Regions from separate parts of the Homo sapiens genome. Here all the other regions are linked to region 3. Evidence: promoter capture Hi-C in human tissues and cell types (Jung and others, 2019). All regions are on one chromosome and are shown on one strand. Each heading gives the region's core, a stretch centred on a gene start or on the middle of the fragment in contact. The rest is flanking DNA. Distances are from core to core; before and after follow the strand shown.

What was found. Contacts are between HindIII fragments. The study calls those that stand out against the background at their distance.
Region 1: a contact is called between a fragment that was not itself captured here and the fragment with the promoter of STC2 in region 3, in 1 of the 25 tissues and cell types used here (H1 embryonic stem cells).
Region 2: a contact is called between a fragment that was not itself captured here and the fragment with the promoter of STC2 in region 3, in 2 of the 25 tissues and cell types used here (IMR-90 fibroblasts and aorta).

Annotation. Positions count from the first base shown.
Region 1 is chr5:173,472,702-173,477,323 of GRCh38, forward strand. The region is part of intron 4 of LOC105377732 (a long non-coding RNA gene); the gene reads left to right. Among named protein-coding and RNA genes, the nearest start is that of LINC02995, 100 kb to the right of the region's middle. The HindIII fragment of the contact is 3,218 bases long and covers 556-3,773 here.
Region 2 is chr5:173,455,036-173,459,808 of GRCh38, forward strand. All of the region lies in intron 3 of LOC105377732 (a long non-coding RNA gene), which reads left to right. Among named protein-coding and RNA genes, the nearest start is that of MIR8056, 110 kb to the left of the region's middle. RefSeq lists an enhancer at 1-941. The HindIII fragment of the contact is 6,989 bases long and covers 1-4,773 here.
Region 3 is chr5:173,326,923-173,331,808 of GRCh38, forward strand. STC2 (stanniocalcin 2) reads right to left here and starts at 1,492. Exons shown (of 4, transcript NM_003714.3): 1 at 1,121-1,492. The coding sequence starts at 1,271. It overlaps LOC124901137 (a long non-coding RNA gene), which reads left to right and starts at 1,677. Exons shown (of 2, transcript XR_007059056.1): 1 at 1,677-2,829. RefSeq lists a silencer at 2,686-2,905. The HindIII fragment of the contact is 8,569 bases long and covers 1-4,886 here.

The DNA of each region.
Region 1 (4,622 bases), core at 915-3,414, 150 kb after region 3:
TCTTTGTCAAAAGGCATTTACCTTAGTTGGCGGGTCAAAGAAAACTCTCAGGTCATGCATAATGGTTGTGGCTGCTGATGCCATCAGCTCTCTTTCTCTTGACATTCAGGGGAAAAGACAGCAGACTGTTTAAACAGCTCCTTGGATGTGGCAGGGTCAAGGCGGCACGGGAAATTGTGTGCAGAGGCAGCTGATTTGCCTCGTAGGTTATTATAAGAATGAAATTGGGCAATTTTATAGAGAATGAGAACCCCAGGAACACATACTTGGTTTCTAACATTCCAAAAGGAGGGAAGAATTACTGGCATCTAATCTGTCCCAAGGACACCCTGCCCTGTTGTTTTTTCCTCCTGCCTGGTACACATGCCTTGGCTGTGCTGAGCTTCAGCAATTTTTGAAGCTGTCATGGAGCAGGGTGGGCTCAGAGCCAGCCTTGCTTGTGCCACCTCAGACCTCTGCATCATTGCAGACCCTGGAACACCCACACCTCTTGGCTCCCTGGTGAACTCCTAGCCTACCATCAACAGCCATCAGAGACTGCAGTTTTTCCAGCAGGCCTCCTTGACTCCCCACTCCTTTGGTAGCTGCCTCTGGTCCCGGCACAGATTTCTGTTAGTGCTCTTACCACCTTGTGTTCTAATGTAAGAATAAGAATTTAAACTCCTCGGCAAGGTCTTTGCTTACTGCTCTGCCTCTTCAACTAGATGGTGGATTTCTGAGAGCAGTGACCTGGGCTGTCTTGCTCACTGTGTATTCTCAGCACCCAGGACATTTCCTGGCAGGCAGAAGGCACTTAGTAAACATTTGCTGAACGATCGAGTGAATAAATGAATAAATGAATGAATGACATCCACAGGCATTTTTGTGTGTGTATGATGAGACATATGAGGTTTCCAGGACACCAGAAACTCCTACAGTCATCCATTCTAGTATGTCACGACGTTGTCACTGGAAGGCCCTTTTAAAAATCACTTCTGTTACCTGTTATCATTCACCAATGCCTGTGCATGAATGAGGTTACAGGATTACAAGGTACCTGCGTAGATAGACCAGGTCTGCTTCTGTTTTGGGGTAAAAGTAGGGAAGTGTGCATGTGTGCGAGGCAATGGGTGAGTGAGAAAGATCTGAAGCTATGGGGTGTTTTTCAAAAGGAACCCTGAAGTCAGAGTGCCCTTGAAAGAGGAGGAGACTGGGAAAGGGAAGGCAAGAGGTCAAGGTTTTCTATTAGTCTTGAGCCCAAGCTTGGGGGGGACCTTAGACCTGCAGGGTCCCAGGTGAGTTCCTAGCCCTTGTTTCTGGCTTCTTAGACAAGAGAGTAATTCATTAACCCATCTTCCATTCATTTACGTGTTCATTCATTGGACTAAATCTCACTGACCATGTACAATGCACCAGAACACAGCAAAAAGCAAAACAAACACATTTCCTACCCTCATGGAACTTATATTCTTGTTAGGGAGAAATAGCCACAAAACAAATAAATCTACTACTATTCCAGATCATCATAAATGCCCTGAAGAAGAACGGAGCAGGACAAGGCAGTGGAGAGCCACAGGGGTTCTGTTTTTGATAGTGCGGGTTGACCAGAGAGGCTGGGGGTAGATACCTTGAGAAGGGGACAGCAGGCAGAAAATAAAGGAAGGGACCCTGATAGCTGAGCTGCTCATTGGTGGGAGACAAAGGCGTGGGATTCAATCCCAGCTCCATTGCTTTGGGCAAGCATATAGAATTGGGTCAAAGATGTTCTCTTTGAGAGTAATTCCTTTATTTGAGCTGAACAGGGGACTTTGACAGATAGGTGTACATTTTTGACTTGGAGTTCATTGCACCACTTCACCCCACTGAGCCCCACTTTACTCCTTTGTCAACTGGGAAGGCAATGAGGCCTCCTTCATAGGCTGTCTTGAAGGTTACATGAGATCCCATGTGTGACAATGGCCCTCGGTGATTTATGGAGAACCATGCTAAGGAGAGCTATTTACAGGTTCACCGCTTGTCAACCTGCAAAGGTATTAAAGTTCCACAAGCAGTCAGTGATTGTTGGCCAATGACTGCTGGGCCTGCTGAATCTTGGGTGCTGGTGGGGACCTTCCTTCATGCCTCTGCCACAGGACTCCCATTAGTCTAAACTTAGATTCCTACAGTCTAGAGGTTAAACGTGGTTAGTGCAGGGCTTGCTGAGTTTCAGCTGGTATATAAGAGCATCATAAAAATCCCTGGCATTTGTTCTGATTGGTTGGTGCCTGTGTAGTACCCGAGGTTAAAATTTCTTGACTCTCAGCCCTGTTAGGAGTATGGACTCTGGAGTCATAGGGCTGGAATGCAAATCTCAGCTCTATCGTTTACCAGCTGTGCAACTTGGGCAAGTTACTCTCTATTACTCTGTTTCCACATCGGTAAGTGGAAGTCATTGTTATGACTTACTATCTCTTAGGGCTGCTGGGAGAACTAATGAGTTAGGCAGTGGCACTGGAAGCAGTGCCTAGCGCACATGCCCATGTAAGTGTTTGCTATTCTTATTACTTTTGTTCCTCCCCCACTTCCACCGTGACTTCCTGTGGAGAAGAGGCCTGTTCTAGTCATCTCCTGGTTTCCAGTAGCTACATCAGGTTTGGCACAGGGCAGTCCCTCGGTAAGTGTGGGATGGATGGCTGAATAAATGGATGGCTGGAGCAGATTTTATTTCTCCTAAGCTTTAGAGTGGCGAAGAGAACTGTAGGGAACGCTGATGGCACAGCTTGGAAAAGGTGTGCAGTGCGGGGCAAGCTTCCCACCAAATCCCTCTCCTCCTGCAGGAACGCAGAATCTTCTTGGGGAAATTCTGTGTCTCTTCAGAGACATTTGGCTAAGTTCAGTCAATGCACCAGCAGTGAAAAAGCTGGTGTCTGGTAGTGCACACCCTCAATTTGGAAATATGATTTTAGAAATGTGAAATTGTGAACAAAGGAGGGGCATCTTAGAGCTGAGAAAGTGCACTGTTTACGGAGTGCTCACAACGCACCAGGCACCTCGGACACTTTCCTGATAGCCTTCACTTCACTCCTCAGTTTGCAGGGAAGAGACTGAGGAATGTTTTGGTTCACTGTCTTGCATAAGCCACACAGCTAATAAGGGCTCCTCCTGAGATTTGCACCTGGGTCTCTCAGGCTTTGGAACCCTACCCTTTTCACTGATTTTCACTGAGAATGTGTAGCTGCCTGTGACTGGGAGAGGGGTTCTCACAGGTTCATAGCTATCTGTATGCACAGGGTACAGTCTAATCTAAATATGAATAAGTTCACAATTGCTGCATTCTTGAATCATTTGACAGCTAAATGATTGACTCATTCAGGGGAAATTTCATTGCTAAAAAGTAGTATCAGTGGTATATACCCAAAAGAATTGAAAGTAAAGTCTCGGAGATAGATTTGCACACTCATGTTCATGGCAGCGTTATTCACAATGGCAAAGGGAGGAATCCACCAACTGTCCACCAACAGATGAATGGATAAACAAGACGTAGTGTATACATGCAGTGGAATATTATTCAGCTGCGAAAAAGAAGGAAATTCTGACCTATGCTATGAAATAGATGAAACTTGAGAGGATATTGTGCTAAGTGAAGTAAGCCAGACACAAAAAGACAAATACTGCATGATGCCACTTACATGATGTGCCTGGAATAGTCAAATTCAGACAGAAAATAGAATGGTGGTTGCCTGGGGCTGGGGGCAGTAAGGAATGGAAGTTATTTAATGGGTACAGAGTTTCAGTTTTGCAAGATGAAAAGAGTTCTGTGGGTGGATGGGGCTAATAATAGCACAACAATGTGCTCAGTGCCACTGCACTTAACACTTACAAATGGTTAAGATGGTAAATTTTATGTTATGTGTGTTTTACCACACACACAACAGAATAAATTCCAGCTGTGTGGGAGAAGTTTGATATCTTATGATGGGAAGGATTTGAACTTGGCTTTAAGGAACTTAGGCTTTTCCAAACTTTACCAGTTAATTGGCGGTGAGTGCGAGTCAGCTGTGGTTCTACTGGGTACCCTAAGTACGGTCAGTACTTCAGCAACTCGTGGGTTCTGGGACAACTTGAGTTGATAATCTCCCTCCCTGCCTTCCTTCATGTTTATCAAATGCCTACTGTGTACCATTCACCCTGCTAGACACTGGACATGAAAACACGTATTCTGTGCGCAAACATACTCATATTTTCTCCCATTTTTTCCTTCTTTCTTTCTTCCTTCCTTTCTTTCTTTCTTTTCCCTCCCTCCCTCCCTCCCTCCCTCCCTCCCTCTCTCTCTCTCTCTCTCTCTCTCTTTCTTTCTTTCTTTCTTTCTACAGAGCCTTGCTCTGTCACCCAGGCTGGAGTGCAGTGGCACAATCTTGGCTCACTGCAAGCTCCACCTCCCAGGTTCCCAACATTCTCCTGCCTCAGCCTCCCAAGTAGCTGGGACTACAGGCACTCGCCACCACGCCCGGCTAATTTTTTGTATTTTTAGTAGAGACAGGGTTTCACCATGTTAGCCAGGATGGTCTCAATCTCCTGACCTCGTGATCCACCCGCCTCGGCCTCCCAAAGTGCTGGGATTACAGGTGTGAGCCACCGCGCCTGGCCCATTTTTATTATTTCTA
Region 2 (4,773 bases), core at 1,016-3,515, 130 kb after region 3:
ACTCTGCTCTTTCTGAAGCTAGGTCAGGAAAAGCATTGAGTTTCTGCCTGGTTCCCTCCCCTTGGATCTGAGCCTTGAATGTAACTGGCTTGCAATCAGTCCAGCAATAGTGATGCCTTAATTTTTGAGGTTGGATCAGAAAAGGCCGTGCGGCTTCTGCCAAGTATTCAGGGACACTCCCTCTGGGAGAAGTCAGCCACCGTTTAAGACATTAGATGCCCTGAGATTGCCACGTGTAGGTGCTCTGGCATCTCTGCTGAGAACTCAGCAGATAACCAGTGACCATCAGTCATGTGAGAGGATCATCTGGGACGTGCAGCCCAGCCAAGCCTGCAGATGACTCCAGGCTCAGCCAACATCTCACTGCAACAAATAAGAGACCCCCGGCAAGAACCACTCAGCTAATCCCTTCTTGAATTCCTGATCTATGAAATCATGAGCAAAATAACATAGTCATCCTAAGACACTGTGTCACACAGAGATAGCAACTGGAGTAGTCAGCCTTTGAAGAAAACCAAACTAACGTGACTCATACGCAGTCACGGACTAGGTCCTTTTCTTTGCTTATGAAAATATTAAGCTTCGTGAAAGGTGCTCCCAAGGCCTTTGCCATGCACGCTATTTAGAAGGCAAACCCCAAGTAGAAAGTTTTAAGTATGTACCCCTCCACACGCAATATAAAACAAAATAGAAATTAAAAGAAAATAAAAATATCTAGAAGTGTGCAAGACCAGTGATGGTCAGGTTCCCTTTCTTGGACATACACACTCCCGCTTGGAGGCCTTAATGGAGGGTGTGCCTCTTGTTTCAGATATAGAAACAGGTCACTTTGACCTACAATATACAACCCCAATGTTTTCACTTGGTGCTTGATTTGTGGCAGGATTTAAATTTCCACCCACTTTTTGGACTAAAAGTTGTTTTTGTAATTGAAATGTATGCTTATCATAAAAGTATAAATACTATAGAGGAATATATGAAGTAAAAGATGAATCCCTTTTGTCTCCCAGCAATGCCATGGGTTGAATTGTGTCCCCTACTCAAGTTCATATGTTGACGTCCTAACCCCCCTGAACCTCAGAATGTGACCTTATTTGGAGATAGGGTCTTTACAGAGGTCATCAAGTTAAAATAAGGTCATTAAGATGAGCCCTAATCCTGTATGACTGATATTCTTATCGAAACGGGAAATTTGGACACAGAGACTTACATAGAGGGAAGACAGTGTAAAGAGACATAGGAAGAAGATGGCCATGTACAAGCCAAAGAGAGCGGAGTGGAACAGATTCCCCCCTCAGGGTTCCCGGAAGGAGCCACCCCTGCCAACACATTGATCTCAGACTTCAAGTTTTCAGAGCTGCTAGAAAATATGTTTCAGCTGTTTAAGCCATTCAATGTGTGGTACTTTATTATGGCAGCCCTAACAAACTAACATAAGTAATTTCTTGTGTCCCTCCAAAAAAAGAGTCTGACTATACCCATATTTGTGTATATGATTTTCTTCCTTACATAAATGAATCATTTACTAATACTTTTCTACACCAGGAATTCTTCACTTTCTAATTTATTGTGCTAATCTTTTCACAGTAGCCTGTGCAGGTGTATTTAATTCCTCTTAACAGCTGCATAGTATTCTGCAGTTGGGAGAAACTACACTTGATTTGCCCACTGTCCTTTTAATGGACAAGTTGCGTGCTTTCCATAATCCCCTGAGTTCATCAAATGCCTGAGCCTTAAGTACAGCAGGGTTGGTGAAGGATCTACACACAGCAAATGTTCAAGACCCACAGACAGAGAGGAGTGAAGCACAAAATAAATGTCTATTTTATATGCTACTTTGTGAACACTTCCTGTGACTCATCTGTTAGAGCTCAGCTGAGAGCCCCTCTTGTGGGTTCTCAGGGCACCTGCTTCCCTCCTTCCTTGCCCTTAGCACAGTTGCGGTTTTCCACTGGTTGGTGTCACTTTCCGAATCATGTCTGTCTCCTTCCCCAGACCCTCTGGCATTGCTCTTGGCTGTGACTCTGGCACTTGGCACATCGTGCTCAATCAGAGTAGGTTCTCAACAACTGTTTATCAATGGAGGGAATCTTTGTAAGCTGTAAAATATCAGAGAAATGCATGACGGAATCGATGCAAAGAGGAAGCAACTCCCCAGGAATGTGGGAGCAGCATCATTTCAGATCATGTGAACTTCCTTGAGGTCAAAGGTTTTATGAGACCCTTCCCTACCTCTGTCATTTGTCACTTTGCCTTCTGCTACTGTGGACCTTTCAGAATTTGCAGCAGCCGATCCTCTCTCTTCCTGTGCTGGATTGACTCAATGTACCATTGAGGGAATGAGTTCAGTGTACATTTTAGAAACCAGGCCATCAGTTACAGTAAGTAACAGCCAGAGTTGTTTAAGGTGAGCATAGACATTGGGGAAAGTGGGGTTAAGAACCATCATGGCCAGGGCAAACACTGGGAATCAAGAAACCAATTCACTAGGCATGGGACTTGGGCAACTTATTTCATAAGAATAAGAAGGCAACAACCGTAAGAGCTGCTGGAATTTACCAAGCCCTTGTCCTGTGGCAGGCACTGCATTTGGCACACAGCTTAACTCTCGCAGCAACCTTGTAAGAGAGACACTGTTCCTATCCACTGCGCTGTGAAAAGAAGCCAAGTGTAGAGGGGCTGAGAGACAGCTCCATGGTCCTGCAACTCGTGAGTGGCAGAGCCAGGTTTTCAAGCGAGATTTGCCCAGTTCATATTTCTTAACCACTGCATGATCCCTCTGGGACCTCTGTTTCCTTTTTGGAAAAGGGGAGGATGGGGCTAATCACTTAGGATCTTTGGGCCCCTGTAACTTAGCCTTAGAATATCTCTCTTAAAAGAACTTTGGCCTTTTGTAGTAAGTTGTTTAGACACCAAGGATCATTTATCTTCGAAGTGAAGGAAGCCCATCTCTTAACTATTAAAAGACCAAACTTGGTACAACATGAGAAAGTTATAGTAGTGACTGTTACAATAAGAGTAACAGTAAAAGTCAAAACCATAATGAGATATTGCCTCACACCCATTAGGGTGGCTACTGTCAAAAACCCAGAAAATAACTAGTGTTGGTAAGCATGTAGAAAAACTGGAATCTCTGTGCACTGCTGGTGGGAGTGTAAAATGCCACTGTGGAAAAAAGCATGGAGGTTTTTCAAAAAAAATTATACATAGAATTACTGTGTGATAGGCCGGGTGCAATGGCTCACGCCTGTAATCCCAGCACTTTGGGAGGCCGAGGCAGGCAGATCATGAGGTCAAGAGATGGAGACCAGCCTGACCAACATGGTGAAACCCTGTCTCTACTAAAAATACAAAAATTTGCTGGACGTGGTGGCGCATGCCTGTAGTCCCAGCTACTTGGGAGACTGAGGCAGGAGAATTGCTTGAACCTGGGAGATGGAGGTTGCAGTGACCCGAGACTGCGCCACTGCACTCCAGCCTGGGTGACAGAGTGAGACTCTATCTCAAAAAAAAAAAAAAAAAAAAAAAAAAGAATTACTGTGTTATTGCTATTCTACTTTTGGGAATATGCCCAAAATAATTGGAAGCATGGTCTTGAAGAGATATTTGTACACCTCTGTTCACAGCAGCATTATTCGCAATAGCCAAAAGGTGGAAGCAACCAAGTGTCCGTCGATAGATGAATGAATAAGCAAAATATGCTATAGACATACAATGGAATATTATTCGGCCTTAAAAAGGAAGAAAATTCTGACACATACTACAACATAGATGAATCTTGAGGACATTGTGCTATGTGAAATAAGTCAGATGCAAAAGGACAAATACTGTCTAATTCCACTTATAGGAGGGCCTCTAGAGTAGCCAAATTCATAGAGACAGAAGTAGAATGGTAGTTGCCGGGGACTGGGAGGAGGAGGAAATGGGGGAGTATTGTTTAATGGATATAGAGTTTCAGTTTTGCAAGATGAAACATTTTCTGGGGATGGATGGTGGTGATGGTTGCACAACAGTATGACTGTACTTAATGCTACTGGACTGTACACTTCAAAATGGTTAAGAGGTTCAATTTTATGATATGTGCATTTCACCCCAATTATTTAAAAAAGGAACAACAGTGAAGGCTGTGACTTCATTAGAATCAGCATTGCCAGTCTGGAGAGCCAGGATGCACCCCTGGCGTGTCAGCAGCATCTCTGTGGGGGAAGCTCAGTCCAGTCTTGGTGGCTCTCTGAGGGAGCCCTGGGTTGGGACTGTGTCTCAATCGGCCATGACAGCTGAGCAGGGGAGCACTGCCTTCGTGCCTGACGTGAGCCCTGCGACATCTGCCCTGGACATATCATTTCAGGAGCATGAGGACTCCAAGTGGGGATCCCTGACAGCTGGGGATGGGGTGGCCGGAAGAAGAGGCTGCTTTTCAGATGGCCCTCAGACAGCAGCCGATGGCATTTGGCCAGATGCGTGCATTTGTGCTATTGCTTTGGAACACGTTGGAGGGAAGAGGGCCCTCTGTGACAAGATAATTTTTTTGGGAAGGGGGATGAGCTGATTTGTTTTTAACTTTGTAAAGTTCAGAAATACCCAATTTAACTTTGTCATATCTCTGAATCCTGAGAGAGGCAGAGAAATGAGGGAGTGACATGCTCATTTTTTCCCAAGAAAAATGAAAGGTTAACCACTTGCTGAGACTATAATAAGAGCGTGGGTAATAAATACATGCTATGCAATATTCCTGACCAACAATGATGGGCTTTGCTACTCTAAAATGTTTGG
Region 3 (4,886 bases), core at 242-2,741:
GGGTCGGAGCAGATAACCCGCATCAGATTAAATCTAGCCAGAGAATGAGGGGCGTGTATTGTTGAGGGTCACCGACCACCGAGAATCAGGTTCAGTTCTCAGAGGAAGCGCCAGAGGAGGGGGAGGGTGGGCGAGGGTCTCGGGGTGGTGGGGGTGCCGGCCCCAGCATGTGGAGGCGACAGGATCCGTAAGACCCCACGCGCCGCCGGGGCAGGACCGCACAGGGCCGCCATTCACTCACTTGGGGCGTCCCTAATGGGCACTCGTGCATTCCAGCTCGTGCGGTGAGCGCACGCACGCCGCCGCTGCCGCGTTCACACGGCCCCCCAAAGTCGGGGGAGGGGTCGTGGAGCGAAGGAGCTGTAGGCAGATTTTCTTTCTCTTTCCGAGCTGGGAAAAGGGCCAGCCCCGTGCCCTGCACGCCTGGCTCTGCTTTGCAGCTTGCCGGTGAGCCAAGAGCCGGTAGAGCAGAGGAGGCGCACGGTTCGGGTCGTGTCACCATTTCTTGGCTTGCTGACCTGGCCAGGAGCTGGGGATGGCGGCAGCACCGCGGAGGTACGCTTTGCGCTGCCCTCACGCTCCCTTCCGAAAGCAGTGCCCCCAGGGGGAAAGTTCGCAATGCCATTTGTCTCGCCGGCAAAGTTCTGGGATGTCGGGCATCTTTTGAGGAGGGGGAAGACGCGGCACCCTTACTGAGGCCGGCAGGCCAGGAAGAGAAGTTCTCCGGGCGCAGGGCGCAGCCCAGCTCCGGGGACCCTCTGGGCCTCCCGCGTGCCGGCCGGGATGAAGCGCGCTTTGCACCGGACCCGGGATTCGGGGGCGGGGGCTGGCGCTGGCAGCGTCAGACGCTGCTTCATTTCCCCTCGACCCTGGGGAGGACAGCAACAAGTCCTGCCCCAGCCATTTCATCACCCTGCTAGCACGTGCAGATTCCGGGCCCTCGGAGCCCGGCGCGGACCTCGCCTTGCCTCGCGCTTCCCTTTGCACGTCCCGTGCCATCCCAAGAGTTTGCGTGGCCCTGGGTGGGCGCCTGGCTCCCGGCGAAACGCCTGGGGCGCGCCGCGTGGGTGCACGGTGTCCTCTCCCAGTAGCTCCCGGCTGCGGGGGCACATGCACTTACCTGTATTCTGCAGGGACAGGCGGCCTTTCTGCTGGGAGCTCCTGTCTTGGGGACCCTCGGGTGGGTTGGTGGCGTCGGTCCCCCGCGCCGGGTCAAAGGTGGCCAACACCAAAGCCAGGGTCATGAACTGGCCCAGCCGCTCGGCACACATGGTTCTTGGTATTAACCTCCCGTCGGGAGACCTGGATCCTTTGTGCTCCCCTCTTCCTCCTCCTCCTCTTCCTCCTTCGCCGCTTCCCCTCCTCCTCCCACTCTTCCTTTTTGCTCGCCTTTTCCCTCCTCCTCGCGGCCGCGGCTCGGATAGAGGTTACCCAGCGCCCTCCCGTAGCTCTCCGGAGAGCATGTGACCAGGCCGTTAGCAGCGCCGCGAGTGCCCGGCAATGGCAGGGATGGTGCCTCAAATATCCCTGGAAGCTCTGGTGTCACTTGAATGAAGGAGTCGAGCAGGTGTTGTCCCGGCGGCTGGACCAATCCGAGACCCCGGCCCTTTTGACAACACGGCCGGGAGGCGGGGCCTGCGCTCAACTACTACAGGAGGAAGCCGAGCGCCGCTGGGAGCGCCGGACAAAGTTGCCGACCTGGCGGCGGCCACGCGTTTGCGTGCGTGTGTATGAGTGTGTGTGAGCGCGGCCGGAGATGCGTGCGCGTGTGCGGGTGCTCCAGGGCAATGGTCGAAAGGACTGTACAATATAAGAGCGAATCCAAGCTCCAGTTGCTGTTAAAGGGGGACGGTGTGCTCTGGGACAGTGTCCCTGGGGCCCCTGGCTCGCGTCACACCCACATCGGGTTGGGAAAGTTTCCTCTTTCCGCCGTTTGGAATTCAGTGAGATTCCCAGCCCAGAGGACTTGATAAATTGAAGCAGTTTCCTAGGCACAATGATGCTGTGGGCCAACTGAGCACACATGGGAATTCCTGGCCTTGTGACACTTTGCATTAAAAAGAACCCCACGATTGAAGATAGGAGCAGAAGCACTAGATACAGTATTTGGTCTGAGCAACTGCCCTATCTTCCCGCTTTGGTGGGCCGTGCAACACCTGGAGTGTCGTTTCTCGTCTTTCCCCTAATCCAGACGCATTCCAGGCTGGGCTGCAGGGATCCAGGTGACAGTCAGGACTTGCATCATTTCCAGGAGGGTGGCAGGGAGGCCCAAGGCAGCCCTGAGTCAGCCCGCCGCGGAGCATCGCGTGCCCGGAGGCCAGAGCTTGAAAGGCAACTTTACGCGTCTCCAAACACACTCCTGCATTTTCTCAAAGCGCTGCTCGCCACCCCGCTCCGGGTTCCCTTTTACTCTCCAGTCATCCGATGGAAGTGGTGAGAACAAAAACAAAGACAAAAAAGCTAAATCCGGGGAAGTTATCTCCATCTCCTCCCTTTTCTTGTTCGGCCCCCTCCCCAAGAACCGCCGGGTCGGGATAGCCCCCGGCTACTTTCTCACCCGGCCCGTGGAGGGAAGGAGAAAGTTGGGCGCCGCTTGGAGCGCCTCTTCCCCTGCTGTGTGTGTACGTGTGCACGCTCACGTCTCCCCCGCGCCGGGGCCGGGGACAGGAACTGCTCTCGGTCCCGTCACCCCACGGCGCAGCTCGGGGGGCTCGCAGGGCTGGGGGAGGGCGGGGACACGAGCGCCGCGCCCAAGCGCCCCAGGGCACGCACCCGGCGTTGGCGCGCACTCGCCCCTCCCCCCGTCCCCACCCTCCTCCTGGAGAACAGGTGAGCCCCGGTACCAGCTCTCGATCCCCCACCCCCGCCCCGCGCCCCGCCCGCGCCCTCTGCGGTAATGCGCCTGGGAAGTTTCATCACCCACTGCCCAGGCGACGCGGCCCTGGGTCTCCGCGGCGGGGCGCACTGCCCGCCTGGTTGGGGCCGCCATGTGACACGGCTGGGGGAGGGGGCGAGGAGACACGCGGGCAGGTCATCTTTTGGCCGGCGCTTGACTTCCAAAGCTTTCCTTTCCCGTGTCCCGGCTGCACGCGGGAGTGGGGAAGGCGGAGGCGGGGGGCCAGGATGGCCACGGCTGGCCGCAGCTATCCGGCGTGTCGAGCTCTCCTGAGTCGGAAGGAAGGAGAGGAGGGGGTGGGGAGGGCGTCTTCAGAGTGGGCTTCCCCTGCGCTGGAGCGCCAGGGAGCATCCATAAATTGTCACTTTGAAGGTCCGAACCTGCGGCGGTAGGGACCATGCCCACTATTCTAATAGCAATTACTCCGCGCAGCCTTGGATCTTTTGTGCAAGGACGTGCGGGTACAAATACATTAAAACGGCCAGTTCACATTGCCCACCCTGCTTGTGTTTGCATAGTTAACTTAGCTTCCTAGTTTATGGAAAACTACCTCCTGTAGATCCTTAAAAACAAAGCAAACAAACGACACAGCGGCATTCTGGCCTCTCCTAACTAACTCTTTAAGGCTCTGAATTTCCTGAGAACAAGTAGCCATTTGGTCCCACTCCTGCTTATGGGTACAGCTGGGTAGACTTTCTTTCTATGTGGCCTCTTTTGTAGGAGAGAACATGAGCAATATTGACATTAAGAAGGCATCTGGTCACCTGTTTTTTTTTGAGAAGCAGAAATAGGAGAGAGCTCCATGGGGCAGGAGCAAGCCCTCTTTTGCCAGATGCAGACACTTAGTGTGCTGGGCAGAGGCCTCCCAGGATACCTGGAGCGATGGCCAGGGGGATGGAGCTCTCCCTGCTCCTGCTTTGCCCAGCCTTTGGCTAGGCCTACCTTTTGCTACCATGGGGCCCCTGGGGCTGCCCTCAGAGGACCTACATAGTTTCAAAGTTCGTCCTGAGGCTGTTTGCTCCTGCCTTCCAAGGGACATTCCTGGTTTTCACCTGAGCCAACTGCCCCTTTAGAACCAAAAGAACACATAGTAGCTAGAATTGGAGGTGGCGTAAGCACAGGCACTAGTTCTTAAGGGTTTATCTCTGGGCCACTTAGCCAAGTCCAAAGCATCCAGATAAGAATGCCCATCTGAGTCCGACCCGCCAAGGCTGTGAAAATTCCCTTGCAGAATCACTAGGCAGTTTGCTGAAATGGCCAGTCTAGGCCGCAGGGGTAGAAGTGGGATGGGGGCTCAGACTGGTGACTTTGTTGTGATTGACTCCCCCTCTCTCTGGCTGATTCCTTTAGCTTTATAACTGAGGCCAAGTTTGGCAGACTGTGGCTGATGAGGGTGGGGCAGGGGACAGTAATAATAATCATTATTACTATTATATAGCTAACATGACACCGCACCACACACCACACTCATGCCTTTGGTGTCCCTCCAGACCTAGGGCCCTCCCTAGATGGGAACTGAGGCCTGGGAGGTCTCCTGGATGGACCAGCTGCTGTCCTGAGGTTCAGCAGCACCTGTCTGGATGGGCCCTCCTCCTCAATTTAACGCATACACAGCCAGGAAGAGGCAGACATGACCTACCTTGTGTCATCCAGGGCCTTCTGTGGTTGACGCCTGGAGCCCATGTTTTCCTGTCTAAATCCACTTTGCTAGTTACATGCGGTCAACACTGAGTGGCAGGTTTTGGGGGAGGGGATATTTGGGTTAGACCATGAAGGATGGGGGAGGATAGTGACAAGTAGAGGCAAGGAAAAAAGTGGGCATGGGAGGTGGGAGGACCAGCAGGGCTAAATGCATGGAGAGGATCCGGTGGGATTTGTATCAGGAATAGGGGTTGCCCAGTTAGGTGTGAAAGTGGGACATCAAACTGGGGAAGTCGGCCAGGGCATGTTGTGAAGGCTGGGCTCCTTGTGACAAATCTGTGCTCCTCAC